Linked DNA regions of Homo sapiens: all the other regions are linked to region 1. Evidence: promoter capture Hi-C in 16 types of primary human blood cells and fetal thymus (Javierre and others, 2016). All regions are on one chromosome and are shown on one strand. Each heading gives the region's core, a stretch centred on a gene start or on the middle of the fragment in contact. The rest is flanking DNA. Distances are from core to core; before and after follow the strand shown.

Evidence for each region. The method cuts DNA at HindIII sites, captures the fragments that hold promoters and counts their contacts. A CHiCAGO score of 5 or more calls a contact.
Region 2: a fragment that was not itself captured here is called in contact with the fragment with the promoter of APOA1 in region 1 in 6 of 17 cell types (total CD4 T cells, total CD8 T cells, naive CD4 T cells and 3 more); the score reaches 10.5 in total CD4 T cells.
Region 3: a fragment that was not itself captured here is called in contact with the fragment with the promoter of APOA1 in region 1 in 7 of 17 cell types (total CD4 T cells, total CD8 T cells, naive CD8 T cells and 4 more); the score reaches 8.0 in total CD4 T cells.
Region 4: a contact is called between a fragment that was not itself captured here and the fragment with the promoter of APOA1 in region 1, in 2 of 17 cell types (total CD8 T cells and activated CD4 T cells). The highest score is 7.1, in total CD8 T cells.
Region 5: a fragment that was not itself captured here is called in contact with the fragment with the promoter of APOA1 in region 1 in 2 of 17 cell types (total CD8 T cells and non-activated CD4 T cells); the score reaches 5.7 in total CD8 T cells.
Region 6: a fragment that was not itself captured here is called in contact with the fragment with the promoter of APOA1 in region 1 in 1 of 17 cell types (total CD8 T cells); the score reaches 5.0 in total CD8 T cells.

Annotation. Positions count from the first base shown.
Region 1 is chr11:116,836,372-116,839,752 of GRCh38, reverse strand. APOA1 (apolipoprotein A1) reads left to right here and starts at 2,131. Exons shown (of 4, transcript NM_000039.3): 1 at 2,131-2,148; 2 at 2,346-2,408; 3 at 2,596-2,752; 4 at 3,342-3,381. The coding sequence starts at 2,366. It also overlaps APOA1-AS. The HindIII fragment of the contact is 2,883 bases long and covers 1-2,531 here.
Region 2 is chr11:117,073,797-117,077,562 of GRCh38, reverse strand. The region is part of intron 1 of SIK3 (SIK family kinase 3); the gene reads left to right. It overlaps LOC124902763 (a long non-coding RNA gene), which reads left to right. Exons shown (of 2, transcript XR_007062899.1): 2 at 1-1,170. Among named protein-coding and RNA genes, the nearest start is that of SIK3, 23 kb to the left of the region's middle. The HindIII fragment of the contact is 3,147 bases long and covers 127-3,273 here.
Region 3 is chr11:117,046,299-117,050,064 of GRCh38, reverse strand. All of the region lies in intron 1 of SIK3 (SIK family kinase 3), which reads left to right. Among named protein-coding and RNA genes, the nearest start is that of SIK3, 50 kb to the left of the region's middle. The HindIII fragment of the contact is 9,138 bases long and covers 1-3,766 here.
Region 4 is chr11:117,027,842-117,031,607 of GRCh38, reverse strand. All of the region lies in intron 1 of SIK3 (SIK family kinase 3), which reads left to right. Among named protein-coding and RNA genes, the nearest start is that of SIK3, 69 kb to the left of the region's middle. The HindIII fragment of the contact is 9,274 bases long and covers 1-3,766 here.
Region 5 is chr11:116,997,808-117,001,573 of GRCh38, reverse strand. The region is part of intron 1 of SIK3 (SIK family kinase 3); the gene reads left to right. Among named protein-coding and RNA genes, the nearest start is that of SIK3, 99 kb to the left of the region's middle. The HindIII fragment of the contact is 1,264 bases long and covers 1,402-2,665 here.
Region 6 is chr11:116,973,672-116,977,437 of GRCh38, reverse strand. The region is part of intron 1 of SIK3 (SIK family kinase 3); the gene reads left to right. Among named protein-coding and RNA genes, the nearest start is that of SIK3, 120 kb to the left of the region's middle. The HindIII fragment of the contact is 4,363 bases long and covers 1-3,766 here.

The sequences.
Region 1 (3,381 bases), core at 882-3,381:
ATAAGGGAATACATTACCAGAAACTGGGATTCTAGAAAACAGAATAGTTACTGTTTACTAAGTGCTAGGTACCTTTCTAACAGTTTTGCATATATGTTCAAAGTTCATGCTTAAAACGATACAAATTTATTATCTTACAGTTATGGAGGACAGAAGTCCAAAATGGGTCATACTGGGCTAAAATCATGGTGGCAGCAGAGCTGTGCTCCTGGAGGCTGCAGGGAAAAATCCTTTGCCTTCTCCAGCTTCTAGGGAAGGGTTGCTCATGTCCCTCAGCTCATGGCCCCCTTCCAGCAGTCACGAGTCTGATCTCCACTGCCATCCTCACATCTCTTTCTCTGACTCTGAGGCCACTGCCTCCCTCTTGTATAATTAAGGACCCCTGTGATGACAATGGGCCCACCTGGAGAATCCAGGCCAACCACCCCATCTCCAGGTCCTTAATCACACTAGCAAAATCTTTTTTTGCCATGGAAGGTAGCAAAGCCACAGGTTCCAGGGATGAGGCTGTGGACATCTTTGGGGAGCGTTATTCTGCTTGCCACACAGTAACCCCTGCCATAACTCAGGGCGATGGCATATTCTATCATTATCTTCAATCAGAAACTGATGTGTGGGGAGGTGATGTATCATAACTCATCCAGGGTCAGGCAGCTGGATTTGAACCTGCCTGACCCTTAGATTTGAGGTTTTCTGGCTCCAGAATCTTCTCTGAAGTGAAAGGCATGAGGCCGACCACTCCCTGATCTGGTAAACAGAGATGTCAGCCTGGTTTCTAGTGTTAGGGAGTTTCCTGGAGTGATGGTACAGGGTACATTTCTGCCCTGCATCCCAAGTCCAGAGACTGGGTTCTAGGTCCAGCCTTTCTTCTAACTCCCTGAGAGATGACAGCCTCTGGGCAAAGTCCCTCTGTGCTCTTCAGTCTCTTCATCTGTGAGATGGTGGCATGGGGAGAGGCTGGAGTGATGTCACAGTTCCTCTCAGCCTGCATCACAGGCTCTAGGACTCAGGTCCTATCAGTAACCTGCTGGGGGAGGTCTGGGCCTTCCAGGAGAAACCTGACAAGATGGTGCTGCAAACACCAACGGACACACAGCACTTTACATTCACAGGCTGTCTCAGGGGCCTCCAACAACCCTGACCATTCTTGCCCCATTTTGCAGATAGAAAACCGAGGCTCAGAGAGATTATATAACTTGCCCACGATCTTCCTCCAGCAAGATGGAGGCCAAGTGAAATGAGAAAGCAGGTCTCCTGCCACTTCCTTTGCCCAGAGGTCTTCTCCCCACACCAGGGCTTCCCAAGGGCTGAGATCCAGTCACACCTGTGCGTGATCAAATATAAGTGTGAACAATGCAAAGGGAGACGTCTTCAATCTAAGGGGCTTCAATTCTGTAATGTAATTCTGAGATTATGCCCTTTTTTGTTAAAGCCTTTCCTTTTTGAAGTGATGGTCACTGTAGATGGTGAGGGTTTTTTGGAGGCGGACAATATCTTTACATGACAAAATTAAAAGTTGGCAGCTCCGAATTGATCTCTGGAGTGTTTTGAAATGCAAGAGGTCTCCGAAACCTCAGTCTGGGAGCCACGGAGGGCTCTCCCCTCTCCCCAGGTTTACCAGTTTGGGAGGCTTGGAGAGAGGCCTGGAGGACCTGCTGGGGACTAAAGAAGAGCACTGGTGGGAGGACAGGGCGGGGGAAGGGGGAGGGGAGTGAAGTAGTCTCCCTGGAATGCTGGTGGTGGGGGAGGCAGTCTCCTTGGTGGAGGAGTCCCAGCGTCCCTCCCCTCCCCTCCTCTGCCAACACAATGGACAATGGCAACTGCCCACACACTCCCATGGAGGGGAAGGGGATGAGTGCAGGGAACCCCGACCCCACCCGGGAGACCTGCAAGCCTGCAGACACTCCCCTCCCGCCCCCACTGAACCCTTGACCCCTGCCCTGCAGCCCCCGCAGCTTGCTGTTTGCCCACTCTATTTGCCCAGCCCCAGGGACAGAGCTGATCCTTGAACTCTTAAGTTCCACATTGCCAGGACCAGTGAGCAGCAACAGGGCCGGGGCTGGGCTTATCAGCCTCCCAGCCCAGACCCTGGCTGCAGACATAAATAGGCCCTGCAAGAGCTGGCTGCTTAGAGACTGCGAGAAGGAGGTGCGTCCTGCTGCCTGCCCCGGTCACTCTGGCTCCCCAGCTCAAGGTTCAGGCCTTGCCCCAGGCCGGGCCTCTGGGTACCTGAGGTCTTCTCCCGCTCTGTGCCCTTCTCCTCACCTGGCTGCAATGAGTGGGGGAGCACGGGGCTTCTGCATGCTGAAGGCACCCCACTCAGCCAGGCCCTTCTTCTCCTCCAGGTCCCCCACGGCCCTTCAGGATGAAAGCTGCGGTGCTGACCTTGGCCGTGCTCTTCCTGACGGGTAGGTGTCCCCTAACCTAGGGAGCCAACCATCGGGGGGCTTTCTCCCTAAATCCCCGTGGCCCACCCTCCTGGGCAGAGGCAGCAGGTTTCTCACTGGCCCCCTCTCCCCCACCTCCAAGCTTGGCCTTTCGGCTCAGATCTCAGCCCACAGCTGGCCTGATCTGGGTCTCCCCTCCCACCCTCAGGGAGCCAGGCTCGGCATTTCTGGCAGCAAGATGAACCCCCCCAGAGCCCCTGGGATCGAGTGAAGGACCTGGCCACTGTGTACGTGGATGTGCTCAAAGACAGCGGCAGAGACTATGTGTCCCAGTTTGAAGGCTCCGCCTTGGGAAAACAGCTAAAGTAAGGACCCAGCCTGGGGTTGAGGGCAGGGGTAGGGGGCAGAGGCCTGTGGGATGATGTTGAAGCCAGACTGGCCGAGTCCTCACCTAATATCTGATGAGCTGGGCCCCACAGATGGTCTGGATGGAGAAACTGGAATGGGATCTCCAGGCAGGGTCACAGCCCATGTCCCCTGCAAAGGACAGACCAGGGCTGCCCGATGCGTGATCACAGAGCCACATTGTGCCTGCAAGTGTAGCAAGCCCCTTTCCCTTCTTCACCACCTCCTCTGCTCCTGCCCAGCAAGACTGTGGGCTGTCTTCGGAGAGGAGAATGCGCTGGAGGCATAGAAGCGAGGTCCTTCAAGGGCCCACTTTGGAGACCAACGTAACTGGGCACTAGTCCCAGCTCTGTCTCCTTTTTAGCTCCTCTCTGTGCCTCGGTCCAGCTGCACAACGGGGCATGGCCTGGCGGGGCAGGGGTGTTGGTTGAGAGTGTACTGGAAATGCTAGGCCACTGCACCTCCGCGGACAGGTGTCACCCAGGGCTCACCCCTGATAGGCTGGGGCGCTGGGAGGCCAGCCCTCAACCCTTCTGTCTCACCCTCCAGCCTAAAGCTCCTTGACAACTGGGACAGCGTGACCTCCACC
Region 2 (3,766 bases), core at 451-2,950, 240 kb before region 1:
GCTAGGTAGTTGGCTTTTGTGTTTGACTGAAGATTTTTTCCAAAGAAAGCAAATAGCTATTAGGAAAAGAAAGAGTCAGCAAATTTCTGTATGCTTTCATGGAAGAGATTTCCCAATTAGAAAGCTTTTGTAGGCTTAACCTTTTGCCCTAAAGTAACCCAACATTTCATTATGTATTCCATTGAGGTTTTGGAGCTCGGCACCAGAAAGCGAGGACCAAGGTTGAATGTGAAAGGAATATTCAGAGGATGAAGCTCATAGTCAACAAAGTGCTGCTTCATAGGCTAGGTCCAAAAATAACCTGCTTGCCATAGGGAGCAAGAATGGAGGTAGCATTAGCTGCTGTTTTGAGCAGTGTTTCATGTCCTGTCATGTCATTCCAGAATGGTTTTTTGGTTTTGTTTAGAGACAGGGTCTTGCTCTGTTGACCAGGCCAGAGTGCAGTGTGGTGTGATTGTAGCTCACAGTCACCTCAAACTCCTGGGCTCAAGTGATCCTCCCATCTCAGTTTCCTGAATAGCTAGGACTACAGACACACACCATTGCACTTGGCTAGTGGTTTTATTTTTAGTATAGACAGTGTCTCGGTTTGTTGCCTAGGCTGGTCTCAAACTCCTGGCCTGAAGCAGTTATCCTACCTTGGCCTTCCAAAGCACTGGAATTATAGGCATGAGCAGCCACACCTGGTCTCATTCCAGAATAATTAAAATTATGTTTAAGGCAGCCGGGTGCAGTGGCTCATGCCTGTAATCTCAGTACTTTGGGAGGCCGAGGCGGGTGGATCATGAGGTCAGGAGTTCAAGACCAGCCTGGCCAATATGGTGAAACCCCGTCTCTACTAAAAATACAAAATAAAAATACAAAAATTAGCCGGGTATGGTAATTAGCGGGTGCCTGTAATCCCAGCTACTTGGGAGTCTGAGGCAGAGAATTGCTTGAACCCGGGAGGTGGAGGTTGCAGTGAGCCAAGATCGCGCCACTGCACTGCAGCCTGGGTGACAGAGTGAGACTCCATCTCGAAAAAAAAAAAATTGTGTTTAAGGCAATATCATTTAAAATTTTATTTTGGGAGAATGTTGCCTTGGTAAATTGGTAAATAACAGTTGTTCTGAAAGGTTTCGGAAGAATGCCTTTCTGCTAAATTGAAGAAATTAACATAATTTACTCTTCTGTAAATAGGGGGATGGTCTGCATTGTGCTCATTTAATCATTGGAGTTCAAATTAATGATTTGCTGGGGTCCTGTGGTGAATCTTGAGTGATTAAGAGGGAGAACTCAGTCCTTGGTTCAGAAAAGTTAGCATTGGAATGGATCCTCAACAGGCCCTGAAGGTAGGAAGTGTTCTGATTTAGAGAGCTCTTCCAAGGCTTGTGATGGAACCCTGCAACGGTAAGTTTTACGAGTATCAGTAACTGGCCGGGTGCAGTGGCTCACACCTGTAATCCCAGCACTTTGGGAGGCTGTGGTGGGTGGATCACCTAAGATCAGGAGTTGGAGACCAGCCTGGCCAACATGGTGAAACCCCGTCTCTACTAAATATGCAAAAATTAGCCAGCCATGGTGGCAGGCGCCTGTAATCCCAGCTACTAGAGAGGCTGAGGCAGGAGAATTGCTTGAACCCAGGAGGTGGAGGTTGCAGTGAGCCGAGATCGTGCATTGCACTCCAGCCTGGGCAACAAGAGCAAAAAACTGTCTCAAAAAAAAAAAAAAAAAAAAAAAAAAGCCAGGCTTGGTGGCTCACGCCTATAATCCCAGCACTTTGGGAGCCAATGTGGGCAGATCATAAGGTCAGGAGATCGAGACCATCTTGGCTAACACTGTGAAACCCCATCTCTACTAAAAATAAAAAAAAAATTAGCCAGGTGTGGTGGCGGGCACCTGTAGTCCCAGCTCCTTGGGAGGCTGAAGCAGGAGAATGGCGTGAACCTGGGAGGCGGAGCTTGCAGTGAGCCGAGATCGTGCCACTGCACTCCAGCCTGGGCAGCAGAGCTGAGATTCCTCAAAAAAAAAAAAAAAGAAAAAAAAATAATCAATAACATAGAATGTGGATATACATAGCACATAGATACGTATAGCAAGTCAGGAAGTTTGCCTAGAAGGAATAAATTAACTCTTGTTACTTGGTGAGATCATGGAAGGGAATGTAATTTGTTTTAGGTGGTGGTAATTGTGAGTTTGAGGCTGGCCCAGGAAATGAGTTGTCAGATATGCTGTCATCCTCATTAATGGTTCAGCTTATTTCTCAGGTTTATAGTTGTATGAGGAGATGCTATGCCTACCCCATTTAGGGAACTATTAGGTTCAAAATCATAAAAGCTAAAGAAGAGTGAAATACAGTGAAAAGTATCCTGTTCACACATACCCCATGATCATCCAGATTTCCCTTCCCAGGGGCAGTTGATATTATCTGTGTCTTATATGTCTTGAGATAGTTTATGTGTATAGAAGTAAATGTAAATATCTACTACTTATTTCCTCTTTTAACACAAATTATAGTAAATAATATACAATAGTCTGCATCTTACTTTTTTCACTCTCGTATCTAATGTTAAAAAAGCTACGTGGTATTCCAATGAAAGGATGTATTATATATATTTTTTAGATATTTCATTTGAGTTGTTTTTTTTTTTTGTTTTGAGACGGAGTCTCTCTCTGTCACCCAGGCTGGAGTGCAATGGCGCGATCTTGACTCACTGCAACCTCCACCTCCCTGGTTCAAGCAATTTCCCTGCCTCAGTCCCCTCAGTAGCTGGGATTACAGGCTCATGCCACCACACCTGGCTAATTTTTTTTTGTATTTTTAGTAGAGACAGGGTTTCACCATGTTGGCTAGACTGGTCCCAAACTCCTGACCTCAGGGAATCCTCCTGCCTGGGCCTCCCAAAGTGCTGGGATTACAGGCGTGAGCCACCACGCCTGGCCTTGAGTTGTTTCTAAGCTGTTGCTAATAAAACAATGCTAGAGGATTTAAAAAAATATGTTAGGGTTTTATATTGACAAGTAAATATTGTCATAATAGAAACTTGCTATACTTATAATAATAATACATCTATAGAACATGTTCATAAATGTCTATTTGAGCCTTCCTGTAAGGTAAGTACAACATTTTATCACTTCATAACTAGTAAAGTGGCAGAAGTAGAGGTAGAACCAAGGTCTTCTGACTCCTATTTGAGTATCTGTCTACTTTACCCAAAATACATATACTGTTGTGGGGCTGTAGGGAAGTGGGGGTGGGAAAATAAGAGGAAGTAGACCTAGGTGGGGCAAGCTTGAGATAGGGATGTATCTGTCATTCTAGAAATTGGGATCCTGTTTGCTAGGAGTAAGTGGAACTGGACATCAGCCTGTTACAGGGACATAAAGGCACTTAGGCACTGGCAGAGCACTATGGTTTGATTGCCATCTTGGAGTACAGTAGTATGGTAAGCCAAAGAGTGGTAGTTCTGGAGAAGCTGGGGACTGTCAGAGCTCCCTAGAATAGACTGAGAGTGAAACAGCATTCACGATTTGCTAAGGAGGCTGGGCTACTAGGAAGGATAAGGTAGGAGCCCAGGAGTTCAGGGCTGCAGTGAATTATGATTGTGCCACTGCATTCTAGCCTTGGCAACAGAGCAAGACCCTGTCTCTTAAAAATATTGGTCAAGACCATAAAACAAGAACATAGGCCATAGTGAAAACATAAAATTTTCTTAGCAGCTGTGGTAGCAAACATGTTAATGGTAAGGAGATAACTGTAATGTTAGTCAATTTTGGCTTAAGACTG
Region 3 (3,766 bases), core at 620-3,119, 210 kb before region 1:
CCTGCCTTGGCCTCCCAGAGCATTGGGATTACAGGCGTGAGCCACTGTGCCCGGCTGCTATCTTATATAATTATACTATAATATAAGATCCTATTTTTTTTTTAAGAGACAGGTTTTCGCTCAGACGCCCAGGCTGGAGTGCAGTGCTGTGATGCTAGCTCACTATAAACTTGAACTCTGGGCTCAAGTGATCCTCAGGAGGAGGATCCTAGCTCCTGGGTAGCTAGGACTACAGTCACGTGCCACTATGCCTGGCTAATTTTAAAATTTGTATAGAGATGATATCTCGGTTTGTTGCCCAGGCTGGTCTCAAACTCCTGGCTTCAAGTGATTCCTCCACTTCAGCTTCCAAAAATGTTGGGACTAGGTGTGAGCCATTGCACCTAGACTGATCCATTTTAAAACTCTATTTTGAATAAAATTTTCAGGGGTAAAAAAGGTTTTTTTCTTTTCCTTTTCTTCCTTGCTTCTTTCTTTCTTTTTTTTTGAGATGGAGCCTTGCTGTGTCACCTAGGCTGGTATGCAGTGGCGCGATCTCGGCTTACTGCAATCTCTGCCTTCCAGGTTCAAGCCATTCTCATGCCTCAGCCTCCCAAGTAGCTGGGATTATAGGCATGCACCATGATGCTTGGGTAATTTTTGTATTTTTAGTAGAGATGGTGTTTCACTGTGTTGGCCAGGCTGGTCTCGAACTCCTGACCTTAAGTGATCTCCCGGCCTTGGCCTCCTAAAGTGCTGGGATTACAGTCATGAGCCACTGCGTCCAGATGGAAAGTATCTTTTTAAACTTTATATCCCTCCCTAGAATTTATCCCCTAATATATGGTGTTTATGGAGGTGGTTGGAATCAACTACTTTTTATAAATATATTATTAAAGAGTTGACAACCCCTAAAAATCTTTTAGATGCTAGACAAAAAAACTGAGAGAAATCATGAAGTATTTTTTTAAAAAATTTTTTGAGATGGAGTCTCACTCCAGTGACAACCCAGGTTGGAGTGCAGTGGCACGATCTCAGCTCACTGCAACCTCTGCCTCCCAGGTTCAAGCAATTCTCCTGCCTCAGCCTCCTGAGTAGCCGGGATTACAAGCGTGCGCCACCACGCCCAGCTAATTTTTGTATTTTTAGCAGAGACGGGGTTTCACCATGTTGGTCAGGGTGGTCTCGAACTCCTGACCTCATGATCCACATGCCTCAGCTTCCCTAAGTGCTGGGATTACAGGTGTGAGCCACCATGCCTGGCTAGTCATGAAGTATTTTAAAGGACGTGGGTTCTGACACTCTTAAATTCAATAGGCCAAAGTTCCTGGCATTTTTTTCTTGGATATGTACCGCATAGACCTTTCTTAGTAGATACTGGGAGAAAGAAGTTGGTTTAATAATGAATTAATGGGAAAGTTTTTTTTTTGAGACGGAGTTTCGCTCTTATTGCCCAGGCTGGAGTGCAATGGCCCGATCTCTGCTTACTGCAACCTCCGCCTCTAGGGTTCAGGTGATTCTCCTGCCTCGGCCTCCCGAGTAGCTGGGATTACAGGCATGCACCGCCAAGCCCGGCTAATTTTGTATTTTTAGCAGAGATGGGGTTTCTCCATGTTGGTCAGGCTGGTCTCGAACTCCCAACCGCAGGTGATCGGCCCACCTCGGCTTCCCAAAGTGCTGGGATTACAGGCGTGAGCCACCGCGTCCAGCCTGGAAAGTTTTAATTGACCTTATGTCTGTATAATTAAATGTATTTCATTAACTTTTTAAAGGTAAATAAATCTGGGGTTTCATCTAAGTGTCAAAAATATGATTTTCACCAATGGCCTACTTATTTTTGCCATTATTTGCATAAATAGCTTTCTGGTTTTTCTCAAGTTAACCTGTATGCTTGTGATGTGAAAGTCATAGTATGTATAAAAAATAGTACCAAGATGAAGTATAGATGGTCATTCTGAACCATTATTCCTTAGCAGAGTGAACTATATTTAAGGTTTTAGAAATAAATCGTATTTCCATGTCTGAATAAGACCTTAGTCTTATTTAAATAAATGTAGGGGAGATGGAGAGAAAGAATAAGATTTGCCTAAGAATACTAATATTAAGATGAATGGCAGGTAGGACACACTGAGGCTGTCAGGCATTGTTCTCAGTGTTTTACATTCACCATCTTGCTTCATCCTCACAACAGACTTTATCATTTGATTAGAAAAAAATCAGTACGATCTAGATGTTCTCATTGAATAACATTTTTTCATAAACAATTTAATTTCATTTAATTTATATTGTTACTATTTTTTATATAAGTAAATATGAGGTCTCACTATGTTGCCCAGGCTGGTCTCAAACTCCTGGGCTCAAGCAGTCCTCTCACCTCGGCCTCCGAAGTGCTGGGATTACAGGCATGAGCCACCACATCTGGCCCTGAACTATTTTAATGCAACAAGTATTTACTGAGTTCCGATAAATGAACCAAGTCTGGTGCTTTAGAACCATGATCTCAAACTGGAGGACATGTCTAAGAATATCTAGGCTTGGACTGTTTTAAGAGAATAAATTTCCAGATTCTCTATATTTTATTTATACTCTTTCCTGAAATTGACTTGTTTGAAGGCAACACTGATATAATGCTAGTCCACCTTCCCTACCCTCCCTTTAGCCCTGTGCCTTCTTATGATTAACAGAAGACAGCCATACCTTTCACCCATCTTGAATCTCACCATTGTACCTTTCTATGAGGTATAAAATCCTCCAGGATTCTAACAAAGGGATAGTCAAAACACTAGTGTCACGTGTGAAACTTCCTTTTATCAAGGTATCTTCCTCCATACATCTTATTAAGAGATGCATCTCCAAAAAAGGAAATTACTTTTTATGTTTAGTTCTCAAAATTTGTAACATTTGCATTGTCTTCATCGATTGTGTTTTACTATAATAGTAACCATACCACAATCCAACATAAATAAACAATAATATACATGTTTTCATTAAGGAAAGTATGATAAAAGTTATATTAAATACTGTGGAAGAAGCAGAATAGAAATACAGTTTCAGGGAGACCGATAAATGGCATAGCATTTTATATAGGAAAAAAAGATTCTGTTACAGTTTTAAAATATAGGATGGGGGATATCAGATTGCCCAGGTGTTTAGATTTTATTGGAATTAGTGATACAGTAGGGTTTTTTGTTTGTTTGTTTGTTTTTAAGACAGGGTCTTGCTCTGTTGCCCAGGCTGGAGTGCAGTGGTGCGATTTTGGCTCACTGCAGCCTCTGCCTCCCAGGCTAAAGCAATCCTCCCACCTCAGCCTCCTGAGCAGCTGGGACTACAGGCGAGTACCACCGTGTGTGACTAATTTTTGTATTTTTTTGTAGAGACGGGGTTTTGCCATGTGGCTCAGGCTGGTCTTGAACTCCTTGGCCCAAGTGATCCACCTCCTTCCACCTCCCAAAGTGCTGGGATTATGGGCGTGAGCCACTTTGCCTCACCAATATAGTAGGTTTAATAGCTTTAAAATTAGCAATATAATAGTGTTTTTAGGTGTCAGTTCTAAATAGACATAGATTGATATATAAATGAAAATATAACCTTTGCAGTGATTAAAACTTGTAATGAAAATTTTAGATGTCAACCTAAGAATATTCAAGGAGACACCTTTTTCCCCCCATTAAATTTGTTTTAGCAGGTATGTGAGCAAAACTTTTGAATAGTGCCGCAAAGGATATAGAGATCAAGAAGAAATAATTTTTGCCCTCAAGATGCTTGTTAGTTAAATGGTGAAGCAGGG
Region 4 (3,766 bases), core at 785-3,284, 190 kb before region 1:
GGAGGTTGCAGTGAGCCAAGATCGCGCCATTGCACTCCAGCCTGGGAAACAAGAGCAAAACTCTGTCTCAAATAAATAAATAAAATAAAAATAAAATAAAATAAAATAAAATGCTGTATTCATTGGCCATTGCCCAACTGATTTTTGATAAAGATGCAGAAGCAATTCAGTGCAGGAAGGATAGCCTTTTAAATAAATGGTGCTGGAGCAACTGGACAGCTATAAGACAAAAAAAAAAAAAGGAAAAAAGGAAAAATCTGACCTAAACTTCACACCTTATAAAAAAATTAACTGAGAGTGGATCATGGACTTAAATGTAAAACATAAAACTAAAAAAAATTTTAGAAAATAACAGGAGAAAATGTTTAGGATATAGAGCTAGGCAAAGAGTTCTGAGACTTGACACCAAAAGTATGATCTAGAAAAGGAAAAATTGGTAAGTTGGACTTCATAAGAACTAAAACATTTTGGTCTGCTAAAGACCATGTTAAAAGGCTGAAAAGGCAAACTACAGACTGGGAGAAAATATTTTTGAACCACATATCCAATAAAGACTACTGTCTAGAATATATAAATAACTCCAAACTCAGTATTAAAAAACCCCAAGTAATCCAATTAGAAAACAGCAAAAGATGTTAAGGAACATTTCACTGAAGAGGATATACAGATGGCATGTAACCCCATGAAGAGATGTTCAACATCATTAGCCGTTAGGGAACTGCAAATTAAAACCACAGTGAGATATCTCAAAATAGAGTTTAATTTTTAAAAAGCCTGGGTGCACTGGCACACACCTGTAATCCTAGTACTTTGCGAGGTTGAGGTGGGAGGATCACCTGAGCCTGGAAAGTCGAGGCTGCAGTGAGCTGTAGTCCTGCCACTGCACACCAGCCTGGGCAACGGGAATGAGACTGTGTCTTAAAACAAATTGTTTTAAAGGAAAAAATAATATCATTAAATTCAGTAAATGCAGGAAAAAAGGCTAAAGCAGAAAAAAACCACATGTGATCTCAATAACTGTATATAACTTCCAGTAACATTTTGTTGTATTTTATACATTTTTTTGCCCTCTGCATTTTTATATTATATAGTTAACTGAATATGCAGTTGTGTCTTGCTTTTTTCACAATACTCAATATCATGAGTATTTTTATCACTTAAAATTATCCATGAATATAGATTTTAAATGGCTCATAATCTTTGTTGTATGGATGTACAGTAATTTATTTAACCATTCCTTTCATATGTTTAAAGTAGTTCCATTTTGTTGCTATTGCAAATAATGCTGTGAGAAACATTTTTGTATGTAAACTTCTGTCAGGATTTCTGATTCCTTCCTTACAATACATTCTTAGAGGTAGAATTACTGTGTCACGACGTGGGCATCTTAGAGGCCTTTGTTAACTATACATTGCCAAAATACTTTGCAGAAATATAGTTTCGATTTATGCCCCTTTTATATTCTTACATTTCTCCTTTCTCTAGGAAAATAAATGTTCATGTTACTCACCTTCACTCAAGGTTTCCAAACACTTTTTCTTGGCTCTCCTCCTACAACTCTGTTCTCAGCTTTCCAAAATTGTTTCTCTTTACTCCTTAGATATCTGGGTTTCCTTAGGTTCTGTGCTCTCCCTCTTCTCTCTATGTATATTCTTCTTTGAGCTAATCAGAACCAGCCCCTTGCCTTCAACTACAGTTTACATCATAATGACTCCTAAATCCCATATCTCTGCTGAGTTTTGGGAACCAGTTCTAACACCATACTAGATATTTTTACCTTATGCTACATAGCCATCACAAATGTAACTCCCTTATCCAAAACTGAACTCATTATCCAACCACACTAACTTCATCTCCACTGATGGCAGTATGACCCATCCAGTGGTAGAAGCCAGAAGTTTGGGAGTTAGCCTAGATTTCTCCTTGAATTTTGTGTACCACTGGTCAATCATTACATTTTAAGATTCTGCTTCCAAAATAGCTCTCTAATTTGTTACCTCCCCTTTCCACTGCCTTAATTTAGGCCCTCATATTTTTTGTACTGCTGCATTGGTGTCTTAACTGATACGCCCATTTCTGACCTAGTTCCATCCCTCAGTTTCATCCTTCACATTAAAACCATTTTGTCTTTTAATTTTTAATTTTATTTTTGAGACAGGGTCTGGCTCTGTTGCTCAGGCTAGAGTGCAGTGGTGCAATCTTGGCTCACTGCAGCCTCTGCCTCCTGGGTTCAATTCATCCTTCCACCTCAGCCTCCTAAGTAGCTGGGACTATAGGTGCTTGCCACCATGCCCAGCTAATTTTTTGTAGATCCAGGGTTTCACCATGTTGCCCAGGCTAGTCTCAAACTCCTGAGCTCAAGTGATCCACCTGCATCTGCCTTCCAAAGTGCTGGGATAGGCTGGGCACAGTGGGTCACACCTGTAATCCCAGCACTTTGGGAGACCGAGGTTGGCGGATCACTTGAGGTCAAGAGTTCGAGACCAGCCTGGCCAGCATGGTGAAACCTTGTCTCCACTAAAAATACCAAAATTAGCCGGGCGTAGTGGCGGGTGCCTGTAATTTCAGCTACTCGGGAGGCTGAGGCGGGAAAATCACTTGAACCCAGGAGGTGGAAGTTGCAGAGAGCCGAGATCACACCACTGTGACAAAGCAAGATTCAATCTCAAAAACAAAATATACAAAATGCTGGGATTACAGGTATGAGCCACCATGCCTGGCCCAGTTTGTCATTTTAATGCATGCATGTCAGCATGTTTCTCACCGTCACTGTCTTCTGTCTCCTGTAAAATAAAGCCTGTTCTCTGTAGCATGGCACCCATGAGCCTGGTCTTGATTTCCTTCCTCCAGGCTACTTTCATGATTTATCCCTGGCCATGCCTGATATGGCTCCCAGTCATGCTGAGCTAGTTTCCTCAACATATTAGAATTGTTTTTCAGGCCTTTATGCTTTTGCTCATGTTTTTTTTTTCCTTGACATGCTTCTTTCTTCTATCCATTTGCCAGATTTCTTTCACATCCTAAGATTCAGGTAACATCATAACCTCCTATGGAAAGCAAGCCCTCTATAGGAATTGTTAAGGGCTTCCTTGTCTGTGTTCCCACTGTGCCATGTACCTACTTCTTTCTGCCACCTCCTACATTGGTGTACTTTTGTTGTTGTTGTTAAGCTGTCCCTATTATACTAGATTGTAACACATGCTTTCTACCGCCTAGAGCAGGAACTGTGTACTCTTAATTGTTTCCTGAGGGCTTGAGATTAGCATCTGGCATGTAGTAGGTGTTTAATAAATATTTCTTGAGTAGATGAAGATATGAGTGAATGAATGAAGGGTTTCATGCTGAAAAATGAAAAAAGGGTTTAACTTTAAGAAAAAAGTCACAGATTTTGGAGTCATAGGAATTGAGTTTGAGTCCTACCGTCATTTCTTAGTGTTGATATAATTTTAAGCAGGTTGTTTCCCTCCTCTGATCTTTAGTTCTTTTGCAAAAGGGAGGTGGTAGTAGTAGTAGTAATACTATTAACAGTAGTAGTAGTAATAATAAAAGTGCTTTTAAAATAAATATTCTGCAAATTTTAGTTAATATTGTTAACAGTAATAAAAAGCATCTTCTATATGTAGGCTGCACATGCATAATGCATTGTCTTGAACGAAGTGAGAGGAGAATTACTTAAAACTTTGGGTAGACGTACTCATCAATTACAAGATCAATTTACTTGGTTTTGCTATAATTTGGTTGCCATTGTTGACCCATTGCTTTATTG
Region 5 (3,766 bases), core at 784-3,283, 160 kb before region 1:
TAGCTGGGACTATAGACGTGAGCCACTGTGCCCAGCTCAAATTACTTTATTTTAAATTTTTTTTTTTTGAGATGGAATCTTGCTGTGTTGCCCAGGCTGGAGTGCAGTGGGGCGATCTCAGCTCACTGCAACCTCCACCTCCTGGGTTCAAGTGATTCTCCTGCCTCAACCTCCCAAGTAGCTGGGAATATAGGTGCACACCGCCATGCCTGGCTAATTTTTGTAGTTTTAGTAGAGATGGGGTTTCACCATATTTGTCAGGCTGGTCTTGAACTCCTGACCTCAGGTGATGCACCTGCCTTGGCCTCCCAAAGTGTTGGGATTACAGGCGTGAGCCACTGCACCTGGCCTCAGATTACTTTTTATACATTGAAAGATGACCTAGAAATTAGTCAAGACATTAATTTAGATAGTCATACAGTCAAGTGACATAAACCTCAGAGAAGAGGAAGGTTTCCGTGCTATCGCCCCACCCACTAGAGTGGAAGAACTTTGAGGGAGATAGAATAGTGATATTATAATCTAGTTCCTATAGATAAAGAATGTTTGCCAAGAAGGTTAACTTCTGTAGCTGAGCTCCTTTGCTGAGAAGATGAAGGAACACTGTTTAATGGATAGATTTAGTCTGTGATTCTCTGTGGAGGTGATTACTGTCAGTTCTCTTTATCCTAGCAGCATTTGGAAAACTGCAGCTAAGCAACCCGTCGTCATTTCCTAATGTTACTATAATCTGGTGTCAATGACTAATGATCTCATTGGGCTAGTTATTCCCTTCCAGCGATGCTGGCATCAGGAAGCACATTAATAGTCTGTAAGAAATGCATTCATTAAAAACCAGGTAATCACTTTGGAGCTGGTCCTGGCAGTGTCTGAATAAATTGGACAAGTTAGAGAAAATCTTGAACCTGAAAGCTACTTTGTCTTTCAGCTTGGTTTGGGCAAGGTAGGAAGAGATGAATCAGTTATAATTTGATGGGATCTAATGTTACTTTTATAAGATACATCACTTTAATATGATGCTTCATCATTAATGTTTTAGTAATCTGACAGCATTAGACAGAATTGATATTCCCCTTATTTTATTATTTCTTGGCTTCATGACAGAACTGTGCATTAAAAGGCACTTAAGATTTTAAAAGGGATATCTAAGAAAGTGGTTAAAAAACAAACAAATCCCAAGTGGCTTGATCTGACTTACAAACTCTAACAATGTGTAGCTAATTGCAGATAGATTTTATTATTCACAGTATTGTGTCAAGTCTCCTGTGCACATCTTCTGTATTGGAGCATAAGTAATGGAGATGTTATCTTGCCCAACATTAGGTTTGAGGAAGTCGTTTTTAAGACAGAAATAGTAGAACAGTGTTATTCCATACTGTACTTTCCCCTTTTATATAAGCTTGCTAAAATTAAGGTTGGGCAATAGGCCCTTGAGCTAAATGTGACCTGATAGAAAGTTTTAGCAACAATGAAAAAAATTATAACTATCTAATATACATATCTAATATTAGATATTTACCTTACTTACATATCATGCACAATCAAACAAATGGCAATTATAACTACATTCTTTTTTACTTGCCATAATGGAAAAACTTTATTAAACAAATTATGCCCACTGTTGCTCTGGGATTTGGGGACTAGGTAGGCATGATTTCAATGGAAAATAATTTAGTAATGGTATGTCTCAATAATGTATCAACAACCTGGAAAGTATATATTCTTTGACTTAGGATTTTCATTTCTAAGAATTTGTCTTATAGAAATAATAGTAGGTCAAAACAAGAATGTAGTCATAAGAGTATTTACTGCAATGTTGTTTAGAAGAGGGAGAAAACAAATGAAAATGGGCTGGGTGCAGTGGCTCACGCCTGTAATCCCAGCACTTTGGAAGGCTGAGGTGGGTAGACCACTTGAGGCCAGGAGTTTGAGACCAGCCTGGTGAAACCCCATCTCTACTGAAAAAACAAAAAAGAAAAGAAAAGAAAAGAAAACAAAATGCCACAAAAAACAAAGAGATGAAAATGAAAAGAGATCTCACAAGACATATGAATATGTTGCACTTCAAACTGATGCAAACAGGTGTCCATCTAAATTCAATAGTGGGCAGTTAGAATTTGAAACTTAGTTGTCATTGATGATTGCCCTGTGCTCAGAGGAATCACAGATTAAAAAAATTTTTTTTAGAAAGAATTGAAGTTGAGTTTCAGAAAAGTCAGACATTTAAGTTTACAACCGTAGTTGGAGTGCAAACACATATATGTCTTAATTACAAAATGTCTGTTCTGTTAGTACAACTTAGCATAAAGAAGAGATGGACCTACAAGTGAAGTATATCAACTGATAAGAAACAAAATGCTTTAAAACTTTGGATTCAAACCTATGATTCCAGAACTGTTCTAACATTTTAAACAATATGGTCAAACTCTAGGCAAGTTTGGTTCCCTTGTGTTTGTGAAACTATATTTTTCATACATCTTCTGAAGTAAAAACTAAACACTCTCATTAGTTGTTTAAATCTGGAATTGGATTTGGAATTTGCCTTGATTTTATATACCTTTGTTCTTGAGGCTACCTGTATTTGTCAGTTTTATCTTAACTTACTCAAAATGGGTCACTTAGTAAAAATAATTGTCTAACTATACACTTTTAGTTTGATTAAGCTTTTTGGATTAGTTTGGGATTTTGACTAAGTTTCTATATTTGTATGATCAATAATTTCATACTTATAGTAAACAAAAATTTATATATCTGTACTCCTATAGATTTATGATTCTGTGGCTCTAAAAATTTCAGTGCTCTTAGAGTTGTGGAAAGAGCAGAGCACTAGATTAAATGAAACCTCTGTGTGCCAGGCCCTAGCTGGGCTTTCTCGAGGCATTAGAGTGATAAAGTTGGTTGAGGAAATGGTGAAAGCCATACCTTTGTCCTGCCATTTTTTTTCTTTATGAGATCATGGTTGAAGTCCCTGACTCTCATGATAGTGAAATTGAGATTTTAAATATTTGTTTCTCTTTACATCCCAAATCCATTATAGCTAAGAGGAGGAATTTCAGATATTTTTCCAAGAGCGGTTGTCAATTTTTTTTTTTTTTTTTTTTTTAAGACGGAGTCTTGTTCTTTCGCCCATGCTGGAGTGCAATGGCATGATCTCAGCTCACTGCAGCCTTCGCCTCCAGGGTTCAAGTGATTCTCCTGCCTCAGCCTCCTGAGTAGCTGGGACTACAGGCGTGCGCCACCATGCCTGGCTAATTTTTTGTATTTTTAGTAGAGACGGGGTTTCACCATGTTAGTCAGGCTGGTTTCAAACTCCTGACCTTGTGATCTGCCTGCCTCAGCCTCCCAAAGTTGTCAGTATTTTACTTACTTTTCTTTCCTTGCATATTGGAATAGCTTTTTTTTTTTTTTAAATTATCATATACACTACCTGTGGAGGTAAAAACATAAACTGTTGTTTTCTTGGAGGCTGAGGCAGGAGGATCACTTGAGCCCAACAGTTTGAGACCAGCCTGGGTAACATAGCAAGACCCTGTCTTTATAAAAATAAAAAGAATTACTGGGTGGTGTGCACCTGTAGTCCTAGCTACTTGGGAGGCTGAGTCAGGAGGATTGCTTGAGCCCAGGAATTTAAAGCTGCAATGAGCTATGATTATGGCACTGCACTGCAGTCTGGGTGACAAAGTGAGACCCCATCTCTAAGAATAAAATAAAATGGAATTAACATTCACTGTCAACAAAGGCACTCTTGTGCCGTTTTTGTCCCCTT
Region 6 (3,766 bases), core at 594-3,093, 140 kb before region 1:
CCAGAACTTCCTGTATCTATTCTTCTTTGAAGAGCCCAACTCACCTAAGAAATTTCTGGCTGGGCATGATGGCTCATGGTTGTAATCCCAGCACTTTGTGGGACTGAGGAGGGAGGATGCCTTGAGCCCAGGAGTTCAAAACCATTCCAGGCAACATAACGAGACTCTGTCTGTATGAAAAGGAAGGAAGGGAGGGAGGGAGGGAGGGAGGGAGGGAGGGAGGAAGAAGAGAGAAGTTTTCCCTTGTGTGTGCTGCTTGTAGGCTAGTGGACTTGATTCTAATGAAGCCTTTGCATGTCTGCTGATCCGGAAATATTTGGCCTTTTCCCAAGGCTCTATGGCTTTGGGAAAATAATGATGAAATACCTATTTATTTTTTATTTTTAATTGTCCTATTTTATATGTTTGATTTTTGTAAACACCTCAGCCCTTTTTAAAAAGAAATAGTTGGAATATAAACATATATTCTCATTAATTAATAAATCAGCTGGATGACTAGTCCAAACTATTATTCCATTATCATTGTCACTGCCCTGTAACTTATTTTAGTTCTGTGTTAGTTATATTTACCTGTTGTTATTTTGCTAATTTGATAGTTTATTGTGAAAACAATTTTTAATATTTGTCTACTGACATTTTTTAAAATAGAAAAAAATTCTCCTAAACCACAATCAGAAATCTTTTCATTTGATTCATTAACAGTTACTAAAACACCACAACTGCGTTCTGGGTCCTAGGCCCTGTAGGGGGGCTCACACAACTTCACTAAACACCAGCCTTAGCAGAGGAAGATAACTATCAATATCTGGAATGTCAAGAACTAGAAGAAACAAGATAATGTGGTCCTAGCAGACAGATAAATGGGATAGATTCAAGAATTCAGAAATAAAACCTTACACTTATGGTCATTTGACTTTTGTTAAGTCTGCAAAGATAATTCATTGGAGAAAGAAGAGTCTTTTCACCAAACAGTGCTGGAATAAGTGTATATCCATGTTCAAAAGAATGAAGTTGGACCTTTGCTTTATACCATATGCAAAAATTAACTTCAAGTGGACCACAAAACTCTCTAAGAGTTTTCATAGAGTTTTATAGTTTTAGCTCTCACATTTATGAAGAGAAGAAAACATACGAGCAAACCTTCCTGATTTGGAGTTAGGCAGTGGTTTCTTAAATAGACTACCAAAAGCAGAAGGGACAAAGGGAAAAATAGATAAATGGACTACATCAAAATTAAAAACTTTTGTTCTGCAGACAATACCATCAGAAAATTGATGACAACCCATAGAATGGAAGAAAATGTTTGCAAATCGTACATCTGATAAGGGACTTGTATCTAGAATATATAAAAACTTTTATAACTCAATAGTAAAAAGTCTAATAATTTAAAAATAGAGGAAAGATTTCAATGTGTAATGCCCCTCAAAGTGTATGCAGTTAGTCCACAAACACATGGAAAGATTCTCAGCATCATTAGTCATTAGGAAAATGCAAATGAAATCCTCAATGAGATACCACGTATCCACTAAGATGGCTGTAATAAAAAAAGATGGACAATAACAAGTGTTGGTTAGGATATGTGGAAAGTAGAACTTTCTGGCATTGCTGGTGAGAGAGAATTTAATGATGCAGCAGCTTTGTCATTTCTTCAAAATGTTTAATGTTCCAAAAAATGTTAAAAGTGGAATTACCATATAACCCAGCAATTCCACTGGTAGGTATAAACCCAAGATAAGTGAAAACACATTCACATAAAAATTTTATGAATGTTCATGGCAGCATTATTCATAATAGCCAAAAAGCAGAACAACCAAAATGTCCATCAACTAAAGAATGGATAATTAAAATTAATATATCCATACAATGGAATATTATTTGGCAATAAAAAGTAATGAAGTACTGATACATGCTGCAAGGTGAATGCCCCTTGAAAACATTATGCCAAGTAAAAGAAACAAGTCACAAAAGGACCAGATATTGTATGATCTCATTGAGATGAAATATTTAGTATAGGCAAATTTATAGAAAGAAAGTGGATTAGTGGTTGCCTAGGGCTGGTGGAGGGATAGGAGTGGGGGAATGAGGAGTGACAGCTAAACAGGTATGAGGTTTTTTTCAGTCGGAACAAAAATGTTCAGTTAGATTGTGATGGTTGCACTATCCTGTGAATTTATAAAACACGTTGAATTTTACACTTTAAATTGGTGAATTGCATGGTATGTGAATATCTCAATAAAGCTGCTTTTTTTTTTAAATAACTAGAATACAAAGAAAGCAGGGAAATTCTTGCTGAGGAGAAATACTAATGTGATTATTTGTCTTGTTAATGAATTTCATGTCCTCGTTCGGGCTAAATATTTGTCAATTTTTAAAAAAATCTACTTTCAGAAAGAGTTTCAGGTATCTTTAACAGAAGATCAACAGATTAAAACAAATTTAAAAGAATTAGGGCCAAATAGTCTAGGGAAGAGGAGAGATGGATACTATTTTACCAGAAAACTTAGGCTAAGTAGAGCTACCACAGTTCACTTAGCTTTTGCTTTCTGGCAGTACAGGCCAACAAGAAAACATGGATTCCTTAACTAACATTATTAAATAAAAGGAAAAAATACAATTGAGAAAACCGATTTCCCAGCACCACACTGTAAGTCAAAACTTAATACCCTGTGACTTGATATCAGGTTCACAAAACTATGTCTAAAAGAAAAATTCTTCAATAATACATTTTTAAAAAAGATTTCAAGGCCAGGTACGGTGGCTTATACCTGTAATCCCAGCACTTTGGGAGTCCAAGGCAGATCACTTACAGCCAGGAGTTTGAGTCCAGCCTGGGCAATATAACAAGACACTGTCTCTACAAAAACAAACAAACAAACAAACAGAAACCCCTATGGTGGCACATGCCTGTAGGCCCAGTCGCTGGGGAGGATCACTTGAGGCCAGGAGGTTGAGGCTGTAGTGAACTGTGATCGTGCCACTGTACTCCAGCCTGGGTGACAAAGACCCTGTTTCAAAAGGGGGAAAAAAAGGGTTCCAAAGTGTTCTTTATATGGAAACCATTTTGATTCTGGATATAGGTCTAGTGAGTCTAGTGAAGAAATGTTGTTTGTTAAGCGATCTGGTTACTTGAACTGACGGAAAGCAGAAAGCTGTTGTTTAGTCTGGTATCTCCAACATTAAATAGAAGTTTCCTAACAAAACAATTTAAGACTGAATTTGAATGTAGTGCTAGAAGAGCAGAGCATTCCATTATGATGTTTGCAGTTAACTATTTTAGAATAGCTTTAGATGTGTAGAAAAATTGCAGATACAGTACAGAGGTCCCAAATACCCCACGGTCAGTTTCCTCTATTCTTATTATCTTACAGTAATATGATACATTTGTCATAATTAATGGACCAATATTAGTACATCCTTATTAAAGTTCATACTTTACTCAAATTCCGTTAGTTTTTACCAAAATGTCCTTTTTCTGTGTCAGGATCTTGTCCAGGATACCACACGCCATTTAGTCACCATGTCTCCTTAGGTTTCTCTTAGCTGTGACAGTTTCTCAGTCTTTTCTTGTTTTTGATGACCTTAATGGTTTTGAGTAGTACTGGTCAGGTATTGTAGAATGCTCCTCAGTTGGAATTTGTCTGATGTCTTTGTCATGATTAGATTGGGGTTATAGGTTTTGAGTGGTAAGATAACCAAGGTAAAGCGCCATTTTCATCACATCATACCAAGGGCACATACTATCAACATGACTTATTACTGTTGATGC